Regions from separate parts of the Homo sapiens genome. Here region 2 is linked to region 1. The links are contacts of gene promoters, found by promoter capture Hi-C in blood cells and fetal thymus (Javierre and others, 2016). All regions are on one chromosome and are shown on one strand. The core of a region is centred on a gene start or on the middle of the fragment in contact, and the rest is flanking DNA. Distances in the headings are between cores, read along the strand shown. Region 1 holds the start of SIRT5 (sirtuin 5). Region 2 has its middle 3.3 kb from the start of DTNBP1.

Region 1 (4,847 bases), core at 1,893-4,392:
GTTAGCGTCACAACTCATGGTGCTGTGTGTGATGCTCCAACTCAGGGTAGGGTCATTCTAGGAAATAAATCCCTAGGCATTTATTTCCATATTTATATTTGCACCAGAAGCTTAAAGAGGACAGTTCACCCCTGAGAGACAGCAGTGATAACCAATAAAGTGAGAGATCCCAAGAGGATGTAAAACTCAGGATGGAGAGAGATTTTCTTTCCAGAGTTAAAGCTTGACATGTCTGAATCTCACCAAAGGAAATAGGCAAAATTATTTTCCAGTGTATGTGCTTCTAAACTTTTCTGTCACCTACCCACATGTCCCAGGAAAACCTCTGTAAATAGGATGAGTTATCAATGAACTCTATCTTGCTTGTTTATTTTTTATTTTGTGCTGCTACAGACAGACTCATAAGCAGAAAGAAAAGGTCATTCGCCTCTTAAATTTTAGTAAAGATAGCCCAAGCCATTATCCTCTGAGTTTGAGGCTGCTTTTCCTGTGAGATTGTTCATTCATTTATTTAATATGTATTTACTAATTCAGCATCTACTATAAGGGATCCTGAGGTGCTGGGAATACCACGGGGAGCAAAACAAAACAAGAAGCCACCTTCACAGCCTGGTGGAGGAGAGAAACTTTAATCAAATACACAGAAATATATTTAAAATCTCAACTGGGATAAGTGCCATGGTGCTACAGGAGCTTATATTAGAGACAAGGGACCTCATGCAGTTGTGAGGGAGGAGGGTTTAAGAAGGCTCCCCCCGCCCCACCCCACCAAGGAACAATTGAATTGAGACTGGAAGGATGAGGGGAGTTACTGTGGAGGGGATAGGAAAAAGTCATCTGGGAAAAGAGAACGGCCTTTTAGAAGGGCAAGGCCATCGAGAAATTAAGCTGGAGTTGCCTGAAAGATGGAAAGGATAGTGGCTGATGTATCAAGATGAGGAAGTGGCTCGACATTGGTCAGGGAGAGGTGGCGTTTCCAAGTCTGGGAGAAGGGACGAGTTCCAGGGCTGGTATGTGGATGGCGGGTGCCTGGATCTTGATGGAATATAATGCCCCAGAAGTGGCAGAACCTGTGGGTGGTGAAGGCTACATATCGGGCCTGTGGACTGTGAAAGTTTGCAATAACTGGCACTGTCTCCCTCTTCTTCCAATTGAAAGGATTAACACACAATGGTCAATATGAAAGCACAAAAGAAATGGAATACACTTTAACGAGAATTGGTATGTGTAGCAGCTTGGAACCTTGTCTTTGAAGTCAAAGCACTTAGATTTAAATCCCAGCTCTACTGTTACTGGTAAATTGCGTTCTTTTCCTAGTCTGTATCAGTTGCAAAGAAAGCACACCAACTGGAAAAAACGGCAAGCGGGTTTCATTCCTGGCCAGGAATAGAGAAGGAGTAAACTTTCACTCTAAAGACCCCCTTCTTCCAGAGCTTTGGGAAGCTGGGGAATTGTAAGGCGTTAGATGTGGAGTGGGGAGGTATGCAAGCATATGCCGGGAGGAACTCTAGACGCACAGGTGCATTTCATAAACATGCCTCTTCATACAATGCACTATCAGAAAATGGCGGCGATTCTCTTCTACGGGTCGGGAGTTGAGCATATAATGATGTATTAATGATCTAAAAGTAACAAGGGGTGGCTGGTTCTGGTTTTCTCTGGTTCCTAGTAGGCCTTATCTTTCTCTGGTACTTGGCAAAGGGCAGTGAGGATCCCGGGCCAACCGCAGTTGTTTTAAGCTGGGTTACCTATAGATAAAGAGACTAGGAAAAAAAATCAAACAAACAAAACGGTTTAAAAAACAATGAGCATTTTCAGCTGTCTACTGTTTAAGAAAATAATGAGCTCTCAGTTTTGCCCTCTGAGCGATTTCTCCAGGACTGCCCTGGTAACACTACTACTCAACAGTTTTGTGCTTTGCGCAGTTACTTGACCTCCCTGGGCCTCGGTTTCCCCACCCATAAAGTGGGGATAACAGTACCTATTTCATCAGGTGGTGGGGACGATTTAAAATGGTTAATAATGTGCAGTTCTTAAAAGTGTCTGGCTCAGAATAAGCACCATACACGTTAGGGGGAAAAACAGCAGCCGGATGTGAGGCCCTCCCCAATTTCGTTACTCCATAAACCTCTGAGTTGCTGGTAACACCTGCAGGAATGAGAAGGGCCTCAACATGGGCTGAATTTCCAGCCAAACTGTGGGAAGTGGCTGAGATTTTAGGTAGGCAAAAAATGTTAATGTAACATTTTTGGCCCCCAAGTTCTCAGACCACTTACTTCCCTTTCTAGTCCACTGACATGCCCGCAAGCAATTCCATTCTGCCAAGTGGTGCTGGTGGCAAGCCGGAATCCAAGAAAAGGAAAGACTCCGATTTTAAGGGAACGGGGACATGCGGAGCCACGTGAGTCACTGGGTCCCAGAGCCACGGAAGGCTCTCAGCTCAGCAGTCAGAGTGCACTCGTCATTGCGTTCGAGGTTAGGTGGCCTAGCCTGGGAACCAACTCACCGTCATTTGAAATCGTTTTAGGGAAAATGACCCTAACATTTAAAATCCTCTCTCCTGAAGTTGTGTGGTCCAGCCGTTTGCTGAAGGAGGAAGCAAAGCCGGTAGTAACTCACTACATATTTGGGCAGTGGAATGAACCCTGGAAGCTGACAAAGTCGAAGCAAGTCACTGCGCCGCCCCCCACCCCCACCCCCACCCCAAATAAAAACAGAGAGACAATCCTTCAATTATAAAGAAGACCACGGCGCCCGGGTCTCCGGCAGGGGCCGCTGCAGCCGAGCAGAACGCTGAGCCGCTCCGCCCCACGGCCTCCTCTCCAGCCGGCGCGCCCGCCTCCCGCAGGTGCGTCTCTGCCTGCGCCGGGCCGGGGTCTCCGCGGCCTCTCCCGCTCGGGCTCCGGCTTCGAGGTCCCGACCAAGCACTGCTCTCGCGGGACTGCGCGCACCGCCCAGGGCCTGCCGCGGGCTCGCGAGCGGAGGTGGCACCGGTCCGCGGTGCGCATGCGCGGCCCGGCCTCTGCCCTGCGGTCCCGGGCTGGTGACTGGCTAGCGGTTGGAGGAAGGGATGTGGGGGATGGTGGGTGGGTACAGAGAGCTGGGAGGGAGGCACCCCGGGGGGCGGGGCGTGGGAGACTGTATTCGGGGGCGCGAGCTGCCCCAGGTGAGCCGTGGCTCAGGTCCGGAGCGCGGTCGGGACACAGCGCCTCTAGGAGAAAGCCTGGAAGGCGCTCCGGGGGTACCCAGAGCTCTTAGCGGGCCGGCAGCATGTGCGGGGCCCAAGGTCTTCCGGGCTCTGCGTGGGGGTCGCTGCGGCTGGAGACCAGGGAGGGGGATGGAAACGGGGTTGGAAAGTAATCCCACCCGAGCAGGTGGGCATGGGAGGCCGCTGTGCTGGGGAGCCCCGCGAGGGCTCCGAACAGAGCCTCCCTTTTCAGAAAGGTCACCCTGGTCATTGCAGCTGCCAGGGTGACCGAGGAAGGTGGCCGGGGTGGAGGCAGTGGGCGTGGAGAGGGGTCGGATTCCGGACGTAGTTTGAAGGTGGAGCCGTCAGGTTCTGCTGAGCAGCTTGGCTATGGGGCGTGCGAGAAGGGAAGGCTCAGGGCCTAGTCCCTGGGCACGAGTAGTAGCCGGGAGGATGAAGTCCCAGTGCTTCGGGGGGAGGCGGCTTGAGGACGGCTCTGGAGCTCAGGCTTGCCCGCGTGGAGTGGAAGCTGCCTCTTGGACACAGGGCGGGGAGGCCGCATGCAGTCTGGCGCGCTGGGAGGATGGGAGATCCAGAGGGGCAGGGCTGGAGGGGTAGGAGGAAAACCTGAAGAGGGTGGCGCCCGGAAGCCCGGGAAAGTGATGAACTGGGTCAGAGGCCGGGTATCAACAAATAGGAGGGTGGAGACGACCTTGAGGAAAGCAGGTGATGGAACGGGAGGGAATGGGGCCCCCTAGTGGAGACACCTGGGAGTGATGTATTGCATTTATTTAGCTCTTAGGCGTTCAAAAATTATTTATTGGGAGCCTGTACAACTTTTTGCAGTTCATTGCATTATCCTTAGCATGTATTTTGTTTTATATAAATATATATTTATATAATTATTTTTATTGACAAATTTATATATTTATAGCGTACAGTGTAATGTTTTGATATATGTATACATTGTAGAAAGATTAAATCAAGCTAATTGACATATCCATCACCTCACCTACTTATTTTTTGTGGTGAAAATCTACTCTCCTGGAAATATACAATACATCATCAACTATGGTCACCATGCTGTGCAGTAGATCACTAAAACTTACTCCTCTTACCTAACTAAAACTTTGTATCCTTTGACCAACATCCCTCCCTTCCACATCAGCCCTCTGCCAGGCCCCTGGTAACCATCATTCTACTCTGCTTCTATGAGTTCAACTTTTTTAGACCCCAAGTATATAAGTAAGATCATGTGCTGTTTGTCCTTCTGTGCCTGGCTTATTTTACTTGGCCTCATGTCCTCCAGGTTCATCCATGTTGTTGCAAATGACAGAATTGCCTTCTGTTTTAAGACTGTATAGTATTCCATTGTATATATGTGCCACATTTTCTTTATCCGGTCCTCAGTTGATGGATACTTAGTTGCTTCTATATCTTGGTTATTGTGAATAATGCTGAAAACAACACAGGAATGCAGCTATCTCTTCAACATACTGATTTCAATTCCTTTGTATATATACCCAGAAGTAGGATTTCTGGGTCATGTGGTAATTCTATTTTTAGATTTTGAGGAGCCTCCATACTGTTTTCCAAAATGGCTGTACTAATTTACATTCCACCAACAGTGTACCAGGGTTCCCTTTTCTCCACATTCTGG
Region 2 (4,505 bases), core at 1-2,500, 2.1 Mb after region 1:
CATTCCCCATATTAACCCATCAAATCCAATCAACTCTACTCCTGAAGTATTTCTGGAACCTCCTTCTCTTTCTATATCTTCACTATATTTATCCTGGTCGAAGGCACCATCCTCTTTCAATGGGAACACAGACAGTTCTTCCAGATTCTACTCTTTTGCCATACACACCCCTATAATCCATCCTTGACACAGCAGCCAGAAAGAGTTATTTAAAAGATCAATCGGATCACGTTGCTCCCCTGCTTAAAATCTTCCAATTGCCTCCTGGGCACTTGGAATAAAATTCAAACTACTTACCCCCTTAAAAAGCCCTAAAATTTGAATGTTTTCTAGCACTGTATCCAAATTGATTACTAGTCACCTATCATGTCCTTGACAATTAAGACATAATAGCCTTTTTTTTTTTTTTTTTTTTGGTGTGTTCTTAGAAAATTCCAGGTTTATTTCCACCTGTGGTGTTTTCACAAACTTTTCTCCAAACTGTCCCTTGTCTGGCTCCTTATAACATAAGGGTCACATCCTAAATAGCATCACATTAGATAGGTTTTACTTACCATTCAAGTTACACACCCAATCACTTCCTATCACGTAGCCTGTTTCTCAACTTAGTACACATTAGAAAATTTATTCAATAATTATTTGCTATTTATTAATTTAGTTGTTTACAAACATATTTTAAAACCACGACAAATAAGGCATTCACCTCAGGTACAAAATTTACGGGAGCCAAAAAGCTCAGTAATCAAGATAAGTAATATTTTAATACAATATTTAAAAAATTCAAAATTAATGAAAAAAAATCTGTGATGAACAAAATATCAAAATTTTAAATACACAGGATCTGTTAGGGCTGGGATTGGATGAGGCCAGTGAGGTAAGTAGCACAAGTACAGGCCCAGATGTAAACTGCTCTGTCTTATTAAGCTTTGCATCCCCAGCAATGAAAACAGTGAATGGCACATAACAGACACCCAGTAAATGTCTTGTTGCAGGAGTTAAATAAGATAAAGGACTTAGCTTGTAGCTGGGGGACCACCTCTTCCCCACTCTTGATGTTTTCTTCCATGGGAAGGGAGCTCTTCTGCTAACATAAAGAAGTACCCAGCCTCTCCTGGTGGGGAAGAGGTGACTACGATGATTAGTGAGCTAGAAGTAAGGAGCTTGGTCTCATCTTCTTTTCTTTTTGTTGAGTGAACACTTCCAACAAAGAGCATTCATTCTGCTGCCTAAAGACAGGCTTGAAGGGCAACCCAGTGCTTTTTGTGACTGGGTACTAGAAGTTCTGCTTGCCCATGAATATAAGCCATGTGTTCCATCAGTCTTCCTAGATATAAAAGTGATATTTTGGCCTCTTTATGCTGACACTATTGTTTTATTTCTCAGTTTGCTCAGACAAGTAAGAAAGAGGAGTGCTGTTTATTGAGCCTTCTTCTACCTCTCAGAAACAGTGCCTGGAACAAAGCAAGTGATCAAATGATCAAATCTACAGACAGGTCCCTTAGTATCTAGTAGATTTGAAAACCACAAGTACTGGGAAATATTAAATTTTTTTCTTTTATTCAATTAAACTCTACACATAAGCTTTCAATTTACTAAGTTTCATACATTCCAACAAAGCACCAAATCCACTCAAAAAAGACTCTTGCCTGTCACTAAAAAATAGCTTTACTGGTTGTGCCTGATCATTTCTGTCTTGACCAATGCACTGTTTATTAGTCTATGGCATGTTTGTATTTGAGGTGCTTTCTGAACATTCTTAATTCCATCATATCTATTAAATTAAAAAACAGTGAAAGTTTTAAAAGTGCTAATAAAAAGATAATTTATGATTTAAAGAAGTAAATATTAAAAAAATTAGAAAATAACTACTGTTGTACATGAGTTGCTCAGGAGGAATGATTAAGGACCAAGAGTTGAAGCATGTGACATGTCGTGTTTACATAAGTAACAGTAATCAGCCAGAAACTAGGAAGATGGATTGGCAAAATGAAAAAAAAAACAAAGCTTTTAAGTACAGTTTGAGAACCAACATCAGTATGGAAGCTATTGACCTAATCTTAATTCAGGAATTGGTTGAGAGTTGATTGTTGTTTGTTTGGGGTTTTTTTGTTTGTTTTGTTTTAAGACGGAGTCTCCCTCTGTCACCTAGGCTGGAGTGCAGTGGTGCAATCTTGGCTCACTGTAGCCTCCACCTCCTGGGTTCAAGTGATTCTCCTGCCTCAGCCTCCTGGGTAGCTGGGATTACAGGCTTCCGCCACCACGCCCAGCTAATTTTTGTATTTTTAGTAGAGACAAGGTTTCACTATGTTGGACAGGCTGGTCTCAAACTCCTGACCTCAAGTGATCCGCCTGCCTTGGCCTCCCAAAATGCTGGGATTACAGGCATGAGCCACCGCGCCCAGCAGAGAGTTGATTTTTTGAGAGCATATTAGTTGCGCCCAGGAAAAGCTTTGGTGATACAACGTTTGGGGTGAGCACCAAAGCTGCTAAGAAGTTTCCTGAAATAGTGCTTCCCTGACCAGCAGCAGCCGCATCATCTGGGAGCTTCCTGCAAAGGTAGAATCGTAGGCCCCAGCCAGCCCTACTGAATCAGAATCTGAGTTTTATTAAGACCCCCCGGGTGATTTTTATTCATGTTAACATTTGAGAAGCCCTACTCGTTGATGAAAGGGGGTTTCCTGTCTCAGCAGATTCTTATTGGAGACAAAGTGATAAATGAGGATTTGGCGGAGTTAGAACCAAAGAGAAAGATGCTATTAAAGAAGGGGTGGTACGAAAGAAACCACCATCAGAGCGAACAGGCAACCTACAGAATGGGAGAAAATTTTTGCAATCTACTCATCGGACAAAGGGCTAATATCCAGAATCTACAATGAACTCAAACAAATTTACAAGAAAAAAACAACCCCATCAACAAGTGGGCAAAGGATGTGAACAGACACTTCTCAAAAGAAGACATTTATGCAGCCAAAAGACACATGAAAAAATGCTCATCATCGCTGACCATCAGAGAAATGCAAATCAAAACCACAATGAGATACCATCTCACACCAGTTAGAATGGCGATCACTAAAAAGTCAGGAAACAACAGGTGCTGGAGAGAATGTGGAGAAATAGGAACACTTTTACACTGTTGGTGGGACTGTAAACTAGTTCAACCATTGTGGAAGTCAGTGTGGCGATTCCTCAGGGATCTAGAACTAGAAATACCATTTGACCCAGCCATCCCATTACTGGGTATATACCCAAAGGACTGTAAATCATGCTGCTATAAAGACACATGAACACATATGTTTATTGTGGCACTATTCGCAATAGCAAAGACTTGGAACCAACCCAAATGTCCAACAATGATAGACTGGATTAAGAAAACGTGGCACATATACACCATGGAATACTATGCAGTGAAAAAAATGATGAGTTCATGTCCTTTGTAGGGACATGGATGAAGCTGGAAACCATTATTCTCGGCAAACTATCGCAAGGACAAAAAACCAAACACCGCATGTTCTCACTCATTGGTGGGAATTGAACAGTGAGAACACATGGACACAGGAAGGGGAACATCATACACTGGGGCCTGTTGTGGGGTGGAGGGAGGCGGGAGGGATAGCATTAGGAGATATACCTAATGTTAAATGACGAGTTAATGGGTGCAGCACACCAACTTGGCACATGTACCCTAAAACTTAAAGTATAATAATAATAAAAAAAAAGCAGGAAAAAAAAGAAGGGGCTGTAGAACCCAGAAAAGTTCATACCATTTCATTGGCAGAGCTCTTTTAGAGTAATTGGAAAGGGACTATGGTTAATTGCTTTGCAGGAACCTGACTTAGATTTGTAAAGATATTTACAGTGTGTTGTTATTATTTGTGATGTTTTTAAAAAGCCAACATGTAAATATTTTTGATATCTTTAATTTTTAAGAGTTTAATGGTTACAGAAGAATCCATGTAAAAGCTGTAAATGTTTCTCGTGAAGCAATGAGTATTTTTAAGAATGAGGTAAGCTAGATAAAGCTGGAAAGGTGATATCAGCACAGCATTTTGAAAAGAAAAGCAGAGACAGAAATCAGGGAGGTGAAGGAGGAGAGTTCCAACCTCAGAGAGTAAAGATTAGAACGCAGCTGAAGAACAGGAGAGAAGGGGGTAGTTAGAGAATATCAAGGTCGGAAGACAGAAGCTATAATAATAGATCTAGACGGCAAGCACTGTCGGGAGTGACAGCAAGGTTGGAAATGAGTATTTTACCTGAGCTGAACGGAAAGAACAGTAAAAGGATCTCAGCTGCATCTATTTGTGTTCCAAAATTGTATCCCACTGTCATAAAATGACTGGGCACCTAACCTTATCTTTTTGCTCAGATGAAAAAAGAAGGCACTACACTGTTGCATTAAAGGAGGAAAACGTTTATTTTTTGTTAATATGTGTTTAGATCTATATAATCTATAAAGATACATTACAGGAGGAAAACTTTTATTTTTTGTTATTCTATGGTTGGATCTA

What was found. The method cuts DNA at HindIII sites, captures the fragments that hold promoters and counts their contacts. A CHiCAGO score of 5 or more calls a contact.
Region 2: a fragment that was not itself captured here is called in contact with the fragment with the promoter of SIRT5 in region 1 in 1 of 17 cell types (fetal thymus); the score reaches 7.8 in fetal thymus.

The regions. Positions count from the first base shown.
Region 1 is chr6:13,571,459-13,576,305 of GRCh38, forward strand. It overlaps SIRT5 (sirtuin 5), which reads left to right and starts at 3,143. Exons shown (of 10, transcript NM_012241.5): 1 at 3,143-3,286. It overlaps LOC105374937 (a long non-coding RNA gene), which reads right to left and starts at 2,976. Exons shown (of 2, transcript XR_926497.4): 1 at 2,507-2,976; 2 at 614-1,763. RefSeq lists a silencer at 2,696-3,215 and enhancers at 2,908-3,494, 3,426-3,905, 3,495-4,080. The HindIII fragment of the contact is 7,984 bases long and covers 221-4,847 here.
Region 2 is chr6:15,664,081-15,668,585 of GRCh38, forward strand. No RefSeq gene overlaps it. Among named protein-coding and RNA genes, the nearest start is that of DTNBP1, 3.3 kb to the left of the region's middle. The HindIII fragment of the contact is 657 bases long and covers 923-1,579 here.